Regions from separate parts of the Homo sapiens genome. Here all the other regions are linked to region 3. The links are contacts of gene promoters, found by promoter capture Hi-C in blood cells and fetal thymus (Javierre and others, 2016). All regions are on one chromosome and are shown on one strand. The core of a region is centred on a gene start or on the middle of the fragment in contact, and the rest is flanking DNA. Distances in the headings are between cores, read along the strand shown.

Evidence for each region. The method cuts DNA at HindIII sites, captures the fragments that hold promoters and counts their contacts. A CHiCAGO score of 5 or more calls a contact.
Region 1: a fragment that was not itself captured here is called in contact with the fragment with the promoter of NOD1 in region 3 in 4 of 17 cell types (total CD4 T cells, neutrophils, activated CD4 T cells and 1 more); the score reaches 8.3 in total CD4 T cells.
Region 2: a fragment that was not itself captured here is called in contact with the fragment with the promoter of NOD1 in region 3 in 11 of 17 cell types (total B cells, non-activated CD4 T cells, naive B cells and 8 more); the score reaches 16.0 in total B cells.
Region 4: a contact is called between a fragment that was not itself captured here and the fragment with the promoter of NOD1 in region 3, in 8 of 17 cell types (naive B cells, total B cells, activated CD4 T cells and 5 more). The highest score is 11.5, in naive B cells.
Region 5: a fragment that was not itself captured here is called in contact with the fragment with the promoter of NOD1 in region 3 in 9 of 17 cell types (neutrophils, total CD4 T cells, non-activated CD4 T cells and 6 more); the score reaches 10.8 in neutrophils.
Region 6: a fragment that was not itself captured here is called in contact with the fragment with the promoter of NOD1 in region 3 in 3 of 17 cell types (neutrophils, total B cells and total CD8 T cells); the score reaches 8.9 in neutrophils.
Region 7: a contact is called between the fragment with the promoter of SCRN1 here and the fragment with the promoter of NOD1 in region 3, in 6 of 17 cell types (neutrophils, naive B cells, total B cells and 3 more). The highest score is 10.1, in neutrophils.

What each region holds. Positions count from the first base shown.
Region 1 is chr7:30,007,599-30,010,298 of GRCh38, forward strand. It overlaps FKBP14-AS1 (FKBP14 antisense RNA 1), which reads left to right. Exons shown (of 3, transcript NR_187577.1): 2 at 630-779. It also overlaps a transcript of FKBP14 not described here. Among named protein-coding and RNA genes, the nearest start is that of FKBP14, 18 kb to the right of the region's middle. The HindIII fragment of the contact is 3,733 bases long and covers 1-2,700 here.
Region 2 is chr7:30,115,806-30,118,505 of GRCh38, forward strand. It overlaps a transcript of PLEKHA8 not described here. Among named protein-coding and RNA genes, the nearest start is that of MTURN, 18 kb to the right of the region's middle. The HindIII fragment of the contact is 1,351 bases long and covers 671-2,021 here.
Region 3 is chr7:30,477,468-30,480,167 of GRCh38, forward strand. NOD1 (nucleotide binding oligomerization domain containing 1) reads right to left here and starts at 1,317. Exons shown (of 14, transcript NM_006092.4): 1 at 1,139-1,317. RefSeq lists an enhancer at 813-1,557 and a silencer at 1,206-1,445. The HindIII fragment of the contact is 7,069 bases long and covers 1-1,762 here.
Region 4 is chr7:30,076,970-30,079,669 of GRCh38, forward strand. It overlaps PLEKHA8 (pleckstrin homology domain containing A8), which reads left to right. Exons shown (of 14, transcript NM_001197026.2): 14 at 1,621-2,700. The coding sequence ends at 1,818. Among named protein-coding and RNA genes, the nearest start is that of PLEKHA8, 50 kb to the left of the region's middle. The HindIII fragment of the contact is 843 bases long and covers 855-1,697 here.
Region 5 is chr7:30,035,292-30,037,991 of GRCh38, forward strand. The region is part of intron 1 of PLEKHA8 (pleckstrin homology domain containing A8); the gene reads left to right. Among named protein-coding and RNA genes, the nearest start is that of PLEKHA8, 8.2 kb to the left of the region's middle. The HindIII fragment of the contact is 7,809 bases long and covers 1-2,700 here.
Region 6 is chr7:30,054,310-30,057,009 of GRCh38, forward strand. PLEKHA8 (pleckstrin homology domain containing A8) reads left to right here. Exons shown (of 14, transcript NM_001197026.2): 8 at 400-556; 9 at 948-1,033. Among named protein-coding and RNA genes, the nearest start is that of PLEKHA8, 27 kb to the left of the region's middle. The HindIII fragment of the contact is 6,410 bases long and covers 1-2,700 here.
Region 7 is chr7:29,988,549-29,991,248 of GRCh38, forward strand. It overlaps SCRN1 (secernin 1), which reads right to left and starts at 1,253. Exons shown (of 8, transcript NM_014766.5): 1 at 1,094-1,253. FKBP14-AS1 (FKBP14 antisense RNA 1) reads left to right here and starts at 108. Exons shown (of 3, transcript NR_187577.1): 1 at 108-245. RefSeq lists silencers at 480-599, 690-959, 970-1,019, 1,040-1,379. The HindIII fragment of the contact is 11,019 bases long and covers 1-2,700 here.

The DNA.
Region 1 (2,700 bases), core at 158-2,657, 470 kb before region 3:
AATGCACAATGCTTTCTGGAATACATAAAAGAATGTTCATAGAAAATACAAATATAGGAGACTGTATTTACAAGGGCAGGGAAGTAGTGAAGTTATCTGTCCCTCAAATTCAGGTTTTTGGACCACCTGCATCAGGGTCACCAGCAAGCATGTTAAAATGCAGACTCAGGCCCAGCGTGATGGCTCACACCTGTAATCCCAGGACTTTGGGAGGCTGAGGTGGGGGGATCACTTGAGGTCAGGAGTTCAAGACCAGTCTGGCCAACATGGTGAAACCTGGACTCTACTAAAAATACAAAAATTAGCCGGGCACGCTGGCATGCACCTTTAGTCCCAGCTACTTGGGAGGCTGAGGCAGGAGAATCGCTTGAACCTGGGAGGCAGAGGTTGCAGTGAGCTGAGATTGTGCCACTGCACTCTAGCCTGGGTGACAAAGCAGGACTCTGTCTCAACAACAACAAAAACTGCAGATTCACAGGCCCAATCCAATAATTAATGAGAATCTTTGGGGATTCAGGAATCTGCACTTTTAATACACCCCATGTGATTCTGCCATGCACTAAAATGTGAATCACCGCTACATTTCTGCAACCTTTAAAAACTAAGGTGTGTGTCTCATTTTACTTCAGGACGGAGCCCTGACAGCAATGTTTGCTACGGCCTCCCTCTGCAGTCAGCCTAAAGCAAGGAGCTGGAGGTAGATGAGGCAAAGGTAAAGGAGACCAAAACAGTATTTTAAAGAAAAAATCATTTATCTTCAAATAGGCTCCAAACCTAAGGTAAGAATGTATTGATTTCATTGTACTAAAGGGAATACACAAACCTACTAAAAAGAATGCTGGCCAGGCACGGTGGCTCATGCCTGTAATCCCAGCACTGTGGGAGGCCGAGGTGGGGAGATCATCTGAGTTCAGGAGTTCGAGACCAGCCTGACCAACATGGTGAAACCCAATCTCTACTAAAAATACAAAAATTAGCTGAGTGTGGTGGCATGTGTCTGTAGTCCCAGTTACTCAGGAGGCTGAGGCGGGAAGATCACTTGAACCTGGGAGGTGGAGGTTGCAGTGAGCTGAGATTTAAAAAAAAAAAAAAAGCCGGCCAGGTGCGGTGGCTCATGCCTGTAATCCCAGCACTTTGGGAGGCCAAGGCAGGCCGATCACGAGGTCAGGAGATCAAGACCATCCTGGCTAACACGGTGAAACCCGTCTCTACTAAAAATACAAAAAAATTAGCCGGGCGTGGTGGCAGGCGCCTGTAGCCCCAGGCTGAGGCAGGAGAATGGCATGAACCCAGGAGGCAGAGCTTGCAGTGAGCCAAGATCCTGGGCGACAGAGCGAGAATCCGTCTCCAAAAAAAAAAAAAGAATGCTAAGGATGCTAAGACACAGAAGTACTAGAAATACTATAATAGTAATGCATAGTAATGCTTTTAAATGGGCATATGTGTTTATAATCATTTTGACATCTTAGATTTCAATTTAAGGTAAAATGGGCAAGAAACAAAAAACAAAAATTCTTATGTCCAAGTGCTCTGCATCTCTGGAAAAGAAGTTCTTTTTTATTTTCCCAGGGTTATTATTATAATGCTAATTTACTTTTTTAGTTTTTTGTTTCTCCCTGCATCCGATAGTGCTATAATTTTTTTTTTTTTTTGAGATGGAATCTTGCTCTGTCACTCAAGCTGGAATGTAGTAGCACAATTTTGGCTCACTTCAACCTCCACCTCCCAGGTTCAAGTGATTCTCCTGCTTCAGCCTCCCTAGTAGCTGGGATTACATGCGTGCACCACCATGCCTGGCTAATTTTTGCATTTTTAGTAAAGACAGGGTTTCACCATGTTGACCAGGTTGGTCTCGAGCACCTGACCTCAAGTGATCCCCCCGCCTCAGCGTCCCAAGGTGCTGGGAGTACAGGCATGAGCCACCACACTCGGCATATAATTTACCTTTTTAATAAAAAGGTAAGAGAATATATTTTCCCATAACATGCCACCAAATTCCTTTTTCTCCTCTTGCAATTTCCAAACACTGAGAAATCACCCATATATACACAGTTCAATGGGGAGAGATAGCATGCTGACCTCTATGTAGCATTAGAAATATAAGCAATAGGCCGGGCGTGGTCCCTCACGCCTGTAATCCCAGCCCTTTGGGAGGCTGAGGCAGGCGGATTACCTGAGGTCAGGAGTTCGAGACCAGCCTGACCAACATGGAGAAACCCTGTCTCTACTAAAAAAAAAAAAAAAAAAAAAATTAGCTGGGCGTGGTGGCGCATGCCTGTAATCCCAGCTACTGGGGAGGCTGAAGCAGGAGAATCGCTTGAACCTGGGAGGCGGAGGTTGTGGTCAACCAAGATCGCGCCACTGGACTCCAGCCTGGCAACAAGAGCGAAACTGTGTCTCAACAACAACAAAAGAAAAAAAATAGAAAAGAAATATAAGCAATATCCCACACATCATTAATAAAATAAAAACTACAAATTCATTTCCATAAGGAAAGATCCAAATGGCTAGATTCTTCATCTGAATCAGAAATCATTGTTTCTCGTTATTTTCATGGCAACCCCGCATTTCGTTTAATCAGAGGGTATTTTATAGCACTGATTTACGCAGTAGGCATAAATCAGTGTGTCCACCTGCTACACACGATAAAACCCTAAACCAAAACAACAGTGATAATAACCATCACCCTCCCTCCTCCCC
Region 2 (2,700 bases), core at 96-2,595, 360 kb before region 3:
ACGCATGCATGTATACATGCGTGCACATACATGTATACACGTATGCATACATACGTGCACATACATGTAGGCACGCATACATGCGTATACATGCATGTATACATGCATGCGTGCGTGTACATACATGTATACATGCACACATACGCATACATGCATGCATACATGTGCATGCATGCATGTATGCATACGCATACATACGCATACATACGCATACATACGTATACATACATGTGCGCATACGCATACATACGTATGCATACGTATACATGTATACATACGCATACATACGTATACATACGCATACATACACGTATACATGTGTATACATATGTATACATACGCATACATACACGTATACATGTGTATACATATGTATACATACGCATACATACACGTATACATGTATACATATGTATATACGTATACATGTATGCGTATACATGTACACGTATACATGCATACATGTATGTATGTATACATGTATGTATTCATACATGTATACATATATACATACACATATGTGTGTATGTATATATGTACTATATAACTTGATTCATGTGTGAATATCTGTTTACATGTGCGATTTTTCACCTAATAGTGTATTGTATTTTTCTTACATCATTAAAATTCATTAAAGAACAAACAACTGAAGAAAAACTTCTGCCTTAGAAGCTTAAGGATAAATGAGGGGCATCTTCTTGCATATATTTGATTAGCTGTTCTGCAAATCTACTCTTCTGCACCTAGCAACCTAGAAATAAAAAAGGGAATAGCTGCACTAAGAGCCCTAGAATCCTAATTAACATTGTGCCGCTGATAGATGCCTTACATTTAAAGCAAGATCATGTTGTTTCTCTCCCATATAAATGATTTTCATTGACTGTTCTGAATAACTTTATATTTCCGGTCTCCAATTTGCTGCAACTAAATCTTAGCTACTCCCCCATTCTGGCTTTCTTGTTGAAAATTGCTCTCTGAGCAAAACCTGGAATGTCTGAAGTCGTTCCCCAACACAGTTGCTAGAGATGGGCTGTGAAATAACAGAATTTAGCAGCAAGTCTCTCCACAGGCCAGTGTATAAAAAGGATCTGAAACCTAGGCTGGGAATGACAAGTATGCTAGAGGGAATGGCACTCCCCTGCCCGCCTTCCAAAAGCAGTTTGGCTTCAGGAGAGTGGGTGTGTGTTTCACTTGGTCTTGCAAATGTAGGTCTAACTTTGTCACCGCCTTTCCGTCTGCCTTCCAGCATCTGTGCCCAGTTGACGTAATGACTGTGGAAGGCAGATTGAACGTTATTAAGGAGACAGCCTGGAAATTGTGAGAGGCAGGCAGGGTCAAGGATAGAAAGCATTTTTGGGAGACTGGGGTTCTCAGCTCACAGTAATTGAGAAATCGATTCAAACTCATGCCATACAATGAAATTATATGTGTGTGTGCATTTCCTAGAAGTTACCCCATGGCCCTTCCCACTTAAGTTAGCACTATACAATGTCTTGGCCAAATGAATTTGAGTTCCAAGTTAGGTTCTTGAGACTTAAATTAGTTCCAAGTTAGTTTCTTAAAATTTGTAGTAGAAATAATAGCCTTAAAATGTAATTTATTAAAAATTAAATTTAGGGCCAGGCACGATGGTTCCTGCCTGTAAGCCTAGCACTTGGGGAGGCTGAGGTGGGAGGATTGCTTTAGCTCAGGAATTTGAGACCAGCCTGGGCAACATAGTGAGACCTTATCTCCACTAAAATAAAAAAATTAGCCAGGCATGTTGGCACACACCTGTAGTCCCAGATACTCAGGAGGCTGAGGCGAGAGGGTCACTTGAGCCCAGGAGTTCAAGGCTGCAGTGAGCCATGATCATGCCACTGTACTCCATCCAGCCTGTGTGACAGAGCAAGACCCCCCTCCAGAAAAAAATTAAAATCTTTAAAAAACAACAGTTTTGATTTACAACTGCCAGAATTTATGAGAAAAATAATTTTAAGTTTCAAAAGTTTAGTGTGCACACTAAAAAAATGAAGGCACAAAGCTTATGTTGCCAACAAGATATTAGAAACAGAAGTATAACTACACAACTCTACTTCCTGTAGATTAAAGATTGCCAAGACTTTATTCATATTTTTATTTTTTAAAAAATTTAAAAACTGAGACGTGGATTCATTTCTAACAGGGACACACAAATGTCTGATGGTGGCCCAGGAGGGCTGTCACTCAGAATCAGGCGGGTGCAGAGTGGCCTGCAGGACATGATGACCCAGCATGAGACAGGATGCATCACATCTGGGTGACGCCTCTCTCCAGGGGATCAGCCTGGACTAAATGCCTCTCCTGGGCCAGGATGCCCAGCAAGCCCCGAGATGCCTCCTGGAGAGAAGGAAGTATGTGAGAGTATCCTGAGTTAAGTGAGATCTAAAATGCCTGAGAAAACCCTGAAATGACTGAGTCTATCTGGAACTTATTTGATTGTTTTTCTGCCATCAGATAGAATGAGGTCTCAAAAGAGAAATTAAATTATATTACAAGAAAATAAAGCTCAATTGCTTGCCTATTTGAGTTTGTGGCCTGTGAAAATCTTGCCCACCAAACTACGAGAAGCAACATGAGGGGCTTTATAATAACTCTGCAGGTAGGTGGACAGCTCATGGAATCCAAGGGGAAAGGCATGGGCTGGGCTGAGAAAGGACTAGAACCAGGAGCTGAAAGCCA
Region 3 (2,700 bases), core at 67-2,566:
GACCCTTTGGCAAGCACGACTTCTGGCTTCACCGTTTTTTTGTTTTTTGTTTGTTTGTTTGTTTTTGACGGAGTTTTGCTCTTGTTGCCCAGGCTGGAGCGCAACAGGGCGATCTCGGCTCACTGCAACCTCTGCCTCCCGGGTTCAAGCAATTCTCCTGCTTCAGCCTCCCGAGTAGCTGGGATTACAGGCATGCGCCACCACGCCCGGTTAATTTTTTTTTTTTTTTTTTTTAGTAGAGACGGTTTCACCATGTTGGGCCAGGCTGGTCTCGAACTCTCGACCTCAGGTGATCCGCCTGCCTTGGCCTCCCAAAGTGCTGGGATTACAGGCGTGAGCCACCGCGCCCGGCCCTGGCTTCACCCTTAAAGCAGAAAGGCCAGAAGTCATCAAGGCCATGGGTTTACTAGCTTAGCTTCCCCAGACTTAATTTCAAACACCAACAACCGAAATGTTTCCTAGAATGCAGAGCTAATGAGACATCAACCTCTGTCATTTCCTATGTTTTTCACAATGTGCCAAAACAACTGCACACATTGGAGGCGTTTTTGAATGTGATATTCAGGCGACCTTGCCAAGCATTGTCTCATTTCCTTACTTTGTGGAGCATGAAACCCAAGGGAAGTTCTCACCCTCTCTCCAGGACCAAGCAGGACACTGGGAGCTGCTGTCCCGTCTGCAGGCGGGACTCCATGAAGGCCCCTGTCTGCCCTTCCAGCCTTTGCCACAAACCCTCGAACGCTGGCTGCACACTGGAATCACTTGGGGAGCTTTTAAAAGATACGGAGGCCTGGGTCTGACTCCGTGAGATTCTGATGGAATTGATCTAGGGTGCAGCCTGGATATCTGGATTTTAAAAGCTCCCCAGGTGGTTCTAAGCTGCTGGCACGATTGAGAACCCCTGCGTTCGACCACAGTGGGATAAACGATTCCGCTGACTGTGAAGTTCATCCCTCTCAACTTTCGCTACATGCTTCAAACTCGCGGGTTTCTCCGCTTGGTTCCACCCAGAGCTCCTCCAGAGCCGCGCTGCGTTCCGCCCGCACGCAAATCCCGCCTCCCTGCGCCTCCTCACTCGCAGCGCCCAGGACCTCAGAAAGGGCCTGCCCCGCGCGAATCCCCAGTCGCTGGGACTTACTTGGCCACCAGGTTTACAGACTTCGCAGCCGCTGAGAGCTAGAGAAGAGCCCGGAGAGCGCCATGGTCCGGGGACGCCGGGGCCGGGAAGCGCCGTGGCCCGGGAGGACGCTGCTCCCGCAGTAGCGCGAGGGAGGGGCAGGACCGGGGCGGCTGCCTCGCGGGCCCGGAACGGGAACTGGCTGCGACTACAGCCGCAGCCGCGCCCCTCTGTTGGCGCGCCCAAGAGCCTGCCGGCTGCTGGGAGAGGCCGCCGAAGGGCGGGGGCGGTCAAGGCAGGGTCCCACGGTGCTGCCATTCGCCCGGGTCTGGCGCGGGGGGGCGAGAGAAGCTGCGCGCAGAGGGACGCCCGGTGCGAGAGGGTGAGCCCCTGGCCACCGCGCAGGGCCGAGTGGACAGGCCCAAGTTCGCCCAGAGGTGACACACTTGGGAATTTGTGGTGCCATCGTGCCAGGTCCCTCCTCGTAAAAGTGCCTACCCAGCGCCTGCAACCAGAGCCAAAGCCTGGACATGATAGGGAAACTCTTGTTAAAACGCGACACGTGGTCCTGATGAAATGGAGGTTAACGTAATCAAATTTAAATTACACTGCATACATTTCAATTTATACTTTTTAAAAAATGTAAGCTTTTCTTCCTATCCTTAAATTTGTTCTTGGCAGTGTACATTTTATGTTCTATGCATATGCTCTAATAGGTTGTAAAAGAGTTTTAACATGCTAATAAATGTCCCCAATAAAATAGTTTTAAAACGTTTTGAATGGGGATCGTGTCCATAAGGGATATCATGCTACAGAAAGTTGTCACTTACTCACACTGAAGAAGTACATTCAATCATATAGCCACTGATGCTTGTGAGTATTAAAATTCCCATCAGAGGCTGCCCTCTGAGAAACAGAAAGTATGTTCTTAAATCAAAAGTGAAAGTGCAAACTAAAGTTGATAGGATCAAATGTGCCAACTTGTGTCAGGCCTCTGAGCCCAAGCCTGCATGTATACATCCAGATGGCCTGAAGCAACTGAGGAATCACAAAGGTAGTGAAAATGGCTGGTTCCTGCCTTAACTGATGACATTACCTTGTGAAATTCCTTCTCCTGGCTCAGAAGCTCCCCCACTGAGCACTTTGTAGACCTTCCACCCCCCCGGCCCCCGCCTTGCCCACCAGAGAACAACCCCCTTTGACTGTAATTTTCCACTACCCACACAAATCCTATAAAGCTACCACACCCCTAACTCCCTTTGCTGACTCTTTTTTTCGTACTCGGCCCACCTGCACCCAGGTGAAATAAACAGCTTTATTGCTCACGCAAAGCCTTTTGGTGGTCTCTTCACACGGACACGTGTGACATTTGGTGCCGAAGACCCGGGACAGGAGGACTCCTTCAGGAGACCAGTCCCCTGTCCTCACCCTCACTCTGTGAGGAGATCCACCTATGACCTCGGGTCCTCAGACCAAACAGCCCAAGGAACATCTCACCAATTTCAAATCGGGTAAGCGGTCTTTTCACTGTCTTCTCCAGCCTCTCTCACTACCCTTAAATCTCCCTCTATTTCCAATTCCAG
Region 4 (2,700 bases), core at 26-2,525, 400 kb before region 3:
GCAAGGTGGCTGCCTCCATCTTGGTCACTAACTAGCCTTCATTTGACCTTTTTGGTTTCCTCTTCAATCAGACTAGACAGTTGAACTCTATTACTGGTTCTCCCCTTTTTTTTCTAGAGTGCTGATGGCTGAGTGTAGAATTCTAGGTTAATAAACATTTTCCCTCCAAATTTTGAAGGCATTCCTCTATTGTCCTCCAGCTTCTACTGTTACTATTGTGAAATCCTATTCTATTATATATAATCTGTTCCTTGTCCCTTTCGAAATGTTTTAGATTGTTTTTCCCCACATTCTGAAATTTCATGATGTGCCCTTTTGGTCTTTATCATTCATTATGCTGAGCACTTGATTAGGTCTTTAAATCTGGAGACTCCTATCCTCCAGTTCTGGGAGATTTTCTTTTGTTATGTTTTTGGATAACTGCCTTCTCTTAATTTTCAGTTTTCCCACTCGCTTGTACTTTGACCATTATCTTAAGTATTTATCATGTGCCAGGCAGTGGGCTAAACACTTCCTACAGATCCCATTAATGCTTAAAATAAGGAAAGTGGTATTAGTCTTCTTCTATAAATAAGGAAACTGAGATTCTAGGAAGTTAAGCACTTTGCATAAATTCCTCAAACTGGTATGTGAAAGATCTGAGATTCAAGTCCAGGTCTGCTTCATCTAAGTCTGTGCTTTAGCCACTGCATGATAATGCCAGTCACTCTCTTACTGCAAAAATGGGGAGGTCTGATTCTCAAAGACTTTCAAAGTATAAGGAAGATCAGGAAAGCAACTGTGGAATGATAATTCAAGATTCTTCAAAAAGCCTCTGCTGAGATCTAGTGACCGCCAGAAAACAGATTTTAGCAAGCTTAGGAAATATTGGCCCGCAAAGGAAGAGAAGGATAAGATGCCTAGGAAATCTGTTAGGCAAGTGGCATAATATGGTGGTGTGGTTGAAAAACACAGAGATGATCCAAGTTCAGATCCTAGCCCTGGCACTCATTAGCTGTATGACGTTTATATATAAAATAGAGATATAAACTGTACAGGGTTCTTATAAAGATCAGCTAGAATAAACTATGTTAAAGCATCAGCGCACAAGCAAACAATAAATGTTAGCTCCCTTCCTTTCTAGAAAGCATTCAAGAGTGCAAAGGAAAGATTATTCTTATGGGGGAAAAATAGAAGATACGCAAAGAAATATATAGAGATGAGATACAAATAAGAGAATGAGATGCCCCAGAAGACAGGCCATGTGGGAATAAAGACCATGATGGCAACATGCATATAGATTCTGAGGATTTGAGGGGAATAGTCTGGATCACACTGTGGATCAGAAGGGAGCTTTTCTCAGACTCTCTCTCTCAGCATTCCCTGATGTGATAGCATTATTTATCCTTAAGGTGGCCCAAGTACATGCTTGTTTCTTCTAGCCTTAAAGTTATTTGAATTGGCCCTTGAAACATAATTTTAGAGAAGCCACAAATTAGAAGGGTAGTCATATTTCTTTACTCTTGCTCTTCTCAGCTGTTTGTATGTGTGAAAGTATGTGTGTGTGCATGTGCACATGCATAAAAATAAGAGTGTGAGAGACAGACTTGATGCAGATTCTCATGGGTTATTCTTTTGCAGTTAGCTTTAAGGGCAGCTCCATCCTATGAAGATTTTGTGGCCGCGTTAACCGTAAAGGAAGGTGACCACCAGAAAGAAGCTTTCAGTATTGGGATGCAGAGGGACCTCAGCCTTTACCTCCCTGCCATGGAGAAGCAGCTGGCCATACTGGACACTTTATATGAGGTCCACGGGCTGGAATCTGATGAGGTGGTATGATGGCTGCTGGGCAGCACCTCCTAACTTCAGGGAATAAGTGCTAAAGTGTTTTGTTGCCCTACTTAATTTCCAGCAACAGCCTCAACCCTCTCCAACCCCTTCACCTGGGGGGATGGACAGGAGGTGGCAAAACCCAGTGCTTTTATAATTTTTAAAATGCATATGTGTTTTGTTTAAAGATCAAGGTGCTATATATTTCAGTTCAGCAGGCCTACTGGAAACCAAATGATAAGCTGCTGTAGACTTGAACAGCAAGTTATAAGAGCAGATTTAACAAACAAATTTGCTGTTATTGTGTATTGTATTGTTTTTATATTTTAGTCTAATGGGCCACCCAAACCCAAGCTGAAAATCAGCAAATTCCATATTAAGTACCATAATTCATAGCCAGTGTTTCAGCCAACTTAGACTAGACATTTGGAGGTAGTATAAGCTGCTTTGTTGAAGCTGTGTAGAGTTTGCTGTTCCTAGATGTTCTTCAGTGGACCCTCTTCACTGCAACTCTGTCAGTGATAAGGGCCTGTGTAGTAAAGATGTTCAGGGCATTCACATGACCATGCAATTGTGGGAGGCGAAGAAGACGTGGACAGGAGTCCCATCCTTGCTGACAGGCATGAAACCGTTGCTCTGAGAAGATTAATGGTGTGCCCTAGCCCCAAGTTGGAGGGGAGAATATGAGAGAGGTGGGACAGGTCATTTGAGATGACACCTCCCAACTGCCTACCATTTACCAGCATGTTCCCCATGCATTATCTCAATTGGACATCACAAGTAATGATACCCAGAGGGATTATTACTCCACTTCAAAAGCAAGGTTTAGAAGTTGAGGGATCTGTTCACAGTCACATAGTTTTTAAGCAGAGGAGCCAGATAATTTCCAAG
Region 5 (2,700 bases), core at 93-2,592, 440 kb before region 3:
ATATGTAATGGATATTGAGCTTACTGTTAGCAGTTTCTGGGTCGTGCCCATTAGTGTCAGACACTCTGCAGACATGCTCCACTGTGTACCAGGCAGGTTCATAGTTCACTTTAAGGGTAGGTTAATTAGATCACTGTTTTGATTAATGATGCCCAGAAAATTTAGTCTCTGTGTATTCAGCTTTCTATTTGCAAATTGTGGTTCCTCATGGATTCTTTTTCATATAATTATTGGCCATTGCTGTCTCTTCCATTGTGAAGTGTCTGTTCAAATCTTTAACCTATTTTTAAAAGTTAATTGTTCTTTTTATTATTGAGTTGTGAGAGCTCTTTATATATTCTTATTTACTTATTTATTTATTTATTTATTTTGAGATGGAGTGTTGCTCTGTCGCCCAGGCTGGAGTGCAGTGGCACAATGTCGGCTCACTGCAACCTTCGCCTCCCGGGTTCAAGCAGTTCTCTACCTCAGCCTCCCAAGTAGCTGGGATTACAGGCGCCTGCCACCAAGCCCGGCTGATTTTTTTTTGTATTTTTAGTAGAGATGAGGTTTCACCATGTTGGCTAGGCTGGTCTTGAACTCCTGACCTCGTGATCCACCCTTCTTGGCCTCCCAAAGTGTTGGGATTACAGGCATGAGCCACCTCGCCCGGCCATATATTCTTAATTAAAATTCCATTGTAGACCAGGCATGGTGGCTCACACCTGTAATGCCAACACTTTGGGAGGCCGACATGGGCAGATCGCTTGAGGCCAGGAGTTTGAGACCAGCCTGGCCAACATGGTGAAGCCCCGTCTCTACTAAAAATACAAAAATTAGCTGGGCGTGATGGCACACGACTGTAATCCCAGCTACTTGGGAGGCTGAGGCACCAGAGTCGTTTGAACCCAGAAGGTGGAGGTTGCAGTGAGCTAAGGGGTTGCAGTGAGCCAAGATCACACCTGTGTTCCAGCCTGGGCAACAGAACGAGACTCTGTTGCAAATAAATAAATAGATAGATAGATAGATAGAGTGAGACTGTGTCTCAGATAGATAGATGGATAGATGGGTGACAGAGCAAGACTGTCACAAATAGATAGTGTAAGATTCTGTCTCAGGTAGATAGGATAGGATAGAATAGATAGATAGATAGATAGATAGATAGATAGATAGATAGATAGATAGATAGATAGATTAGATAGAGAAATAATGCCCAGAGGAATTAAGTAGTGTCCTTAAGATGACATACCTGGATGTTATGAGTCTGAACTTAAACCATGGTTTCCTCACTCCGTTGTTTTAAGGTGCTGGTAGGACATATGAGAAGCACTGTGCAGAACAAATAAATATTTAGTTTGGTAGCTCAAAGTGCACAGGAGAGGTGACCTACATCTTCTAGCAGAAGGTTTTAAAGAGAATTTGATATAATCTATTGTAATTATAGTCTTCTTACCATCTACATGGTAGACTCTCCAGTAGTCTGTCACTCCTTGAGGCTGGGATCTTTTCTCTAAATCTCCAAACCTGGCAAACTACAACTGCTCAGAAAATGCTTTGTGAATTAATTAATGGTAAATTAAGAAGCCTATAATTTAGCTAATGCTTGGGTAACTGTTACAATGAGGAGTGTTTCTTCATTCTTCCCTCCTCCCTAGCTACAACAGAACTCTTAACTGACTGACCTGGCAGAGGAACCCAAGGCTTTGCTGTCCGCATCCCTGTCTGGAACTCCCCTAGAGAAGCTGAGTGGGGGAGGGCTCTAATGGGATGAGGTGTGGCTGAGCGCTTAGGTTGGATATTGGAAAACACCAAGGCTATGGAGGTCAGGGGTAGCAAATTAATTGCTCTGCTTTGCTTCAATTTAAAATGGTAGATTATTTCACTATTAACATATCTATATAGCATACATAATATATGATATGATAATATATATGGGTTATGAACGTAGAAACCATAATTTATAATGAATAAATTGTCTTGACTCAACATTTCAGATTGTCAGTCCTATCAAGACATTTAATTTCACTTTTTTTTTCTTGGCATTAGTTACTTTCTCTGTTTTTATTTAAAAAAATTTGTTTGGAAACAGGGTCTCGCTATGTTGCCCAAGCTGGTCTTGAACTCCTGGCCTCAACTGATCCTTCTGCCTCATGAGCCACTGTACCTGGCAGTTACTATCTCTTGAATCAGATTCTGGGAAAGATGGGAGTTTTCTGTTATTTTGTATTAGGATAGGTTTTGAAAGCTGAGAGAGACTTCTAGGCATCATCTAAACTCCAGCTGAAATTTTGTAGAAAAGGAAACTAAAGCTGAAAGAAGTTTAGGGACTTAACCTTTTCTTTCTCCCATTCTGTTCCCCCTTTATTATGGTCACTAATTTTTCCTCTTATTGTTAATGAAAAAGCACCTTTCCTTCACTTTTTTTCTTTACTTTTGGCTAACTTTTCTAGAAAGAGTTTAAATAGTCCCTTTTCATTTTTTTTTTCTGCATTTCTACACAACAGTAGTTCTTATGGATTTTTTTTCTTTTAGTCTTGAACTTTAAGTTCAGGGGTACATGTGCAGGTTTGTTACATAGATAAATGTGTGCCATGGTCATTTGCTGTACAGATCATCCCATCACCTAGGTATTAAGCCCAGCATTCATTAATTTTTCCTGATCCTCTTCCTCCCCCAACCCCCTCTTAAGGATTTTAAAAATTCACAATATGTTAAATTTTT
Region 6 (2,700 bases), core at 1-2,500, 420 kb before region 3:
AAATAAATTTTAGCAAGTAGACAAATTCACAAATACATATAGAATGTGCTAATAATGAGTAGTGATTGTATTTATAATTGTAAAATTTTGGAAGCTACCTAAGTGCCCCTCATGGATATGATACAATATAACATGGTCATTAAAATCATGTTTTTGAAGGGTTGAATGATAATGAAAATATTCATGATACATTGTTTAGTGAAAGCAAGCAGGATTCAAATCTACACATACTTCAAGTTTTGTTTGTGTGTGTAGATGTATGTTTATGTATATGTGAATAGTGTTTCATGAATTTTTATTTCTATGTATTTTTCTGTGTTTTAGAAATTTTCAACAATCAATATGTATTTTTATAATAAATATATAATAGGTTAGTAATAGATATTTTCTACTTTGCAGTCCAAGGTGAAATAAGGAAGGAAGATGGAATGGAAAACCTGAAAAATCATGACAATAACTTGACTCAGTCTGGATCAGACTCAAGTTGCTCTCCGGAATGCCTCTGGGAGGAAGGCAAAGAAGTTATCCCAACTTTCTTTAGTACCATGAACACAAGGTATTCTAGACTCTTTAATATCACTGATGCTTGGATACTAACTTCCATTCTGGAAAATCAGTCATGGTGTTCCTTTCAGGTGATGGCATATTCTAGGAGAATAGAGAATGTGGTATACCAAGTACCTGCTTTACTGTTTACTCTTTCTTACCAATGAATAAGAAGGAATTCATTGTGAAGTGTGCTCTGTGAACAAATGTTAGCTTGCTTTGGTGGATTATCTTTGGAAATTTATTTTATGAGACCATATTAGAAAAACAGTTACTGGGGCATATCAAGTCAAACGATTTGCCCTACAGAGAGGCAGCTGTGTCTATGACTTACCTCTGAATTGCAGAGTGCTGATACTGTATTTTCAATCTTTTCTCCTCCATATCACCAAATTATGTAGCTTTAGTGACATTGAACTTCTGGAAGACAGTGGCATTCCCACAGAAGCATTCTTGGCATCATGTTATGCTGTGGTTCCAGTATTAGGTAAGATTCCTGCAGTTGCCTTACATTCATTCATGTCTAGAATCTGCCTCACTGTAGTTATTTTGCAGGAGAAATACCCCAAACTATGTGTACAGTGAGATGACCCTTGGCTATTTGTTCAAATCACCAGACACATACAGTTAAAACTGTGTGACCTTAAGCATTATTGCATATTCCCATTTCATTTCTAATAATGATTAAATATTGACCTCAAAATAATGTAATTTAAAAGGGGGATCTTTCTAGAAACCATACATAAAAGTAAAAAAAGTATTTGAGGAATAGACCTTCAAATATATTGGCACTGTGAAAAAATGTGTTTTACCAGTTAAAACTTTTTTGAGACAGGCTCTTGCTTTGTTGCCCAGGCTGGAGTGCAGTGGCATGATCTCTGTTCACTGCAAACTTCACCTCCCAGGCTCAAGCAATCCTTCCACCTCAGCCTTCTTGGTAGCTGGACTATATGCGCATGCCCGGCTAATTTTTGTATTTTTTGTGGATATGGGTTTCGTCATGTTGCCCATACTGGTTTGGAACACCCGGGCTCAAGTGATCCTTCCCTCCCAAAATGTGAGCCACCATACCCAACCAAAACATATTTTCTTTTTTTTTTTTTTTGAGACGGAGTCTTGCTCTGTCACCCAGGCTGCAGTGCAGTGGCGGGATCTCCACTCACTGCAAGCTCCGCCCCCCAGGTTCATGCTGTTCTCCTGCCTCAGCCTCCCGAGTAGCTGGGACTTCAGGTGCCTGCCACCACACCTGGCTAATTTTTTTGTATTTTTAGTAGAGACAGGGTTTCACTGTGTTTGCCAGGATAGTCTTGATCTCCTGACCTCGTGATCCGCCTGCCTTGGCCTCCAAAAGTGCTGGGATTACAGGTGTGAGCCACCACGCCCGGCCTGCAAAACATATTTTCAAAGATTTTTAAAGATATATTCTCTCTCTCTCTCTCTCTCTCTCTCTCTCTCTCTATATATATATATATATATAAATAACATATATATAATATATATAACACATATATATATAAATAACATATATATAATATATATAACACATATATATAACATACATATATATGTAAATAAATAAAATGTATGTTATGGCTGGGCACAGTGGCTCACGCCTGTAATCCCAGCACTTTGGGAGGCTGAGGTGGGCGGATCACCTGAGATGAGGAGTTTGAGACCAGCCTGGCCAACATGGTAAAACCCCGTCTCTACTAAAAATACAAAAATTAGCTGAGTGTGGTGGCGCGCACCTGTAATCCCAGTTACTCAGGAGGCTGAGGCAGGAGAATTGCTTGAACCTGGGAGACGGAGGTTGCAGTGAGCCGAGATTGCACCACTGCACTCCAGCCTGGATGACAGACAGCCTGTCTCAAAAAAAAAAAAAAAAAAGTGTGTGTGTGTGTGTGTGTGTGTGTGTGTGTGTGTGTGTGTGTATATATATATGTTATGTGTATATATATGTTATGTATATATATGTTATATATATATTTAATAGATAAATATATCTGAAAATTTATATGTAACATTTAAATTATATGTAATTTATATCTAACAAATACATAATTTTATATATTATATATAATATATATTTATATATATAAAAAAGTTTATTTAGGTCAAATTCACTTTTACTTGTATAAAGTCAGTAATACCAAC
Region 7 (2,700 bases), core at 3-2,502, 490 kb before region 3:
CGCCTGGCCTATTTTTCATGCTGCCATTTTGAATTAGCATAGGTTTCCTCCGCAACTGATGCATCTTCTAACCAGGCTGGGAACACAACACGCGCACACGCGCACACACACACGCACGCACCCACCCCACCCGGCTGCCGGACGCAAGCGTAAGTCAAGGACTTGCATGCTAGAATCAGACAGAAAATCCAGAAAAGCCACGTTATTTAACAGAACCCTACAAGGTCAGCTTTGAGTCAAAGCAGGTAACAGTTTCCTTCGATGTTTTCATGGACATTTTTATTCCCAAATCCGAGTTCTCGCCAATTCTCTAAAGTTCAAGCGCCCCTCCTGCTTTGCAGACCACATTTCTCTCGGCCCTCGCGAGTGAGGTCGCCAAATACTCGACGCCTCAAGAGCGAGCCGAGGAGGCAGAGGCCGACCAAGCCGGCCTCTCGGCAGCCCCGCCCGGCGCCCCGCGGAGAACGCCCGGGTGCGGCTCGAGGGAAGTTGTGTCAAGTCCCACGCGCGGCCCGCGGAGAACCCAGGGGCGGCCCGCGCGCGTCGGCCTAGCGGGGAGGGCTGCTCCGGGACACGGTGCGGCGGCCGCGGGCGAGTTGGACGCGCTGGCAGAGCCGGGCCGAAGGCGGCGGGCGTCTCCGGGCAGCCATGTTCGCGGCGCCCGCCCGCGCAGCAGGTACGGCACCTCGGGGAAGGTGCCCGGCTCGCCCCAGACCCCAGGGTGGCGAGGCCAGGGGCCCACAGGCACATCCCAGTGGGCAGCAGGTTGGCTGCCAGGAAAAGGAAACCCAGGAAGAGCAGCGCGGGGAACCCGGCTGCGGTGCGGGAGCCCGGGGCCGGCATCCCTCCACTGCACCCCCGCAGTCCCCGAGCCGAGTCACCCCGGCTTCAGGCCGAGGCCACCTCTCCTCTGACCGCCCCCAGGCTCCCAGCCCGCCCGGGCCAGCACCGGGAATCGGCCTGGGGTAACGCTACCCGCGGGTTCGGAGGGACAGCGGGAGGAGATGAAACGCAGGAGGTGGCGATGGCGGGTGGGGTGAAACCGCCGGGAAAGCAGCGCTGCAAACGCCCTGCGCTCCCAGACGCGGCTCACCTGGGGCGGCGGGCTCCGGGCTCCGCTCTCCGCTCTGCGGTGCTGAGGCTGCGGCCGCCGAGGGTGCGGGTGCTGCCGGGTCCGGATTACTGCGGCGACCTCGGGGGCTGCAGCTGCAGTGGCGGAGGCGGCCGCCGGGCGCTTCCCCCTACCCAGACTCCCGGCGCTGGGGCCCGCCGCCCCCCGCAGCAGCTGGCCCGACTCACGTGACCGCGGGCCCACCCTCCGCCTCCCCCACCCCGGCCCCCGGGGCCCCGCCGCACCCCGCGCGTCTGGCTGCACGGGCCGCGGCGCTGCTCACCGTCGAGTAGGGAGGGGGCCTGGGAGCTGGAGGAGCGGCCGAGAGGGCGTATCTCGCCGCAGAAAGTGGCCCCCTCTTTGCTAGATTTTTATTTCTTGGTTGTGGCTCTCAAAAGGGAAAACCCGGGCTTCAAGGAGCCAGGCCCAGCATCCTTTTGGCGCCTCTTCCCGACGTTTGGTTGCTACGTCCGGGCCTCGGCGCCCACACAAGATTTCCCCGGAGAGAAATGTGTCCTGTACCTTGTTGACTCGCACGTCCAAGTCGAGTCCCTGGTTTTAAAAGTGCCGTCCTGTACCATGTTGGTAAGCCAGACCCTGTCCCAGGTACTTGGACATTGTGGCCTAGAGAGGTTAAGTAACTTGCCCAAGGTCACACAGCACGTAACTAAGCCAAGATTCCATATCTGGGTTAATAAAGTTATGTACAGGGACTTGTGTGTTGTGTGTCTGTGTGTGTGTGTGTGTGTGTGTGTTGATGCCAGCGTCAACTCCATCTTTTATAAGTAAATAAGAAAAGACTATCTCAAAAGATATGAAGACGTAATTCAGAGGAAAATAAATGCAATTCTATCCTGGCACACGAAAAGATATTCAGGCTCACTTAACTGCAAATCAAATATGTGGGGTAGCATCTTCCACCAGCCAGATTAACAAAAATCAAAACATTTTGAGTCTTGCTTTGTCGCCCAGTCTGGAATGCAGTGGCAGGATCTCGGCTCACTGCAAACTCCGCCTCCTGCCTCCCGCCTCCCGCCTCCCGCCTCCCGGGTTCAAGCGATTCTCGTGCCTCAGCCTCCCAAGTGGCTGAGACTACAGACCCACGCCACCAGCCTCGCTAATTTTTTTTGATTTTTAGTAGAGATGGGGTTTCACCATGTTGCCCAGGCCGGTCTCAAACTCCTGAGCTTAGGCAATCCGCCTGCCTCTACTATCCAGCTTCCTTTAAAAAGGAGAATGATCTTTATTTGCTAATACAAAACTATTTCCAACCTATACTAACTAAAGAAAAATAAAAAGCTAGGTGCAGAACGTTGTGTGTGTTATTTGTGGGAAGAAAATATATATGTATGTCTGTACTTATTTTTGTAAATGCACAGAGTATCTTTGGAAGAGTACGTAAGAACCTGTAATAGATGCCACCAGGGAGCAGAACTGGGAGACTGGGTGCTGGGGAGAGAAGGAGACTTTTTTCCATGCCCTTTGAATGTTGAGCCTGTGCTTACAGTCTGACACATGAGTAAACGGATAGTGGGGAAGGGCTGAGGAAGTTGGTGTAGGTACTGCAGAATAGAGCATTGGTTCGTAGA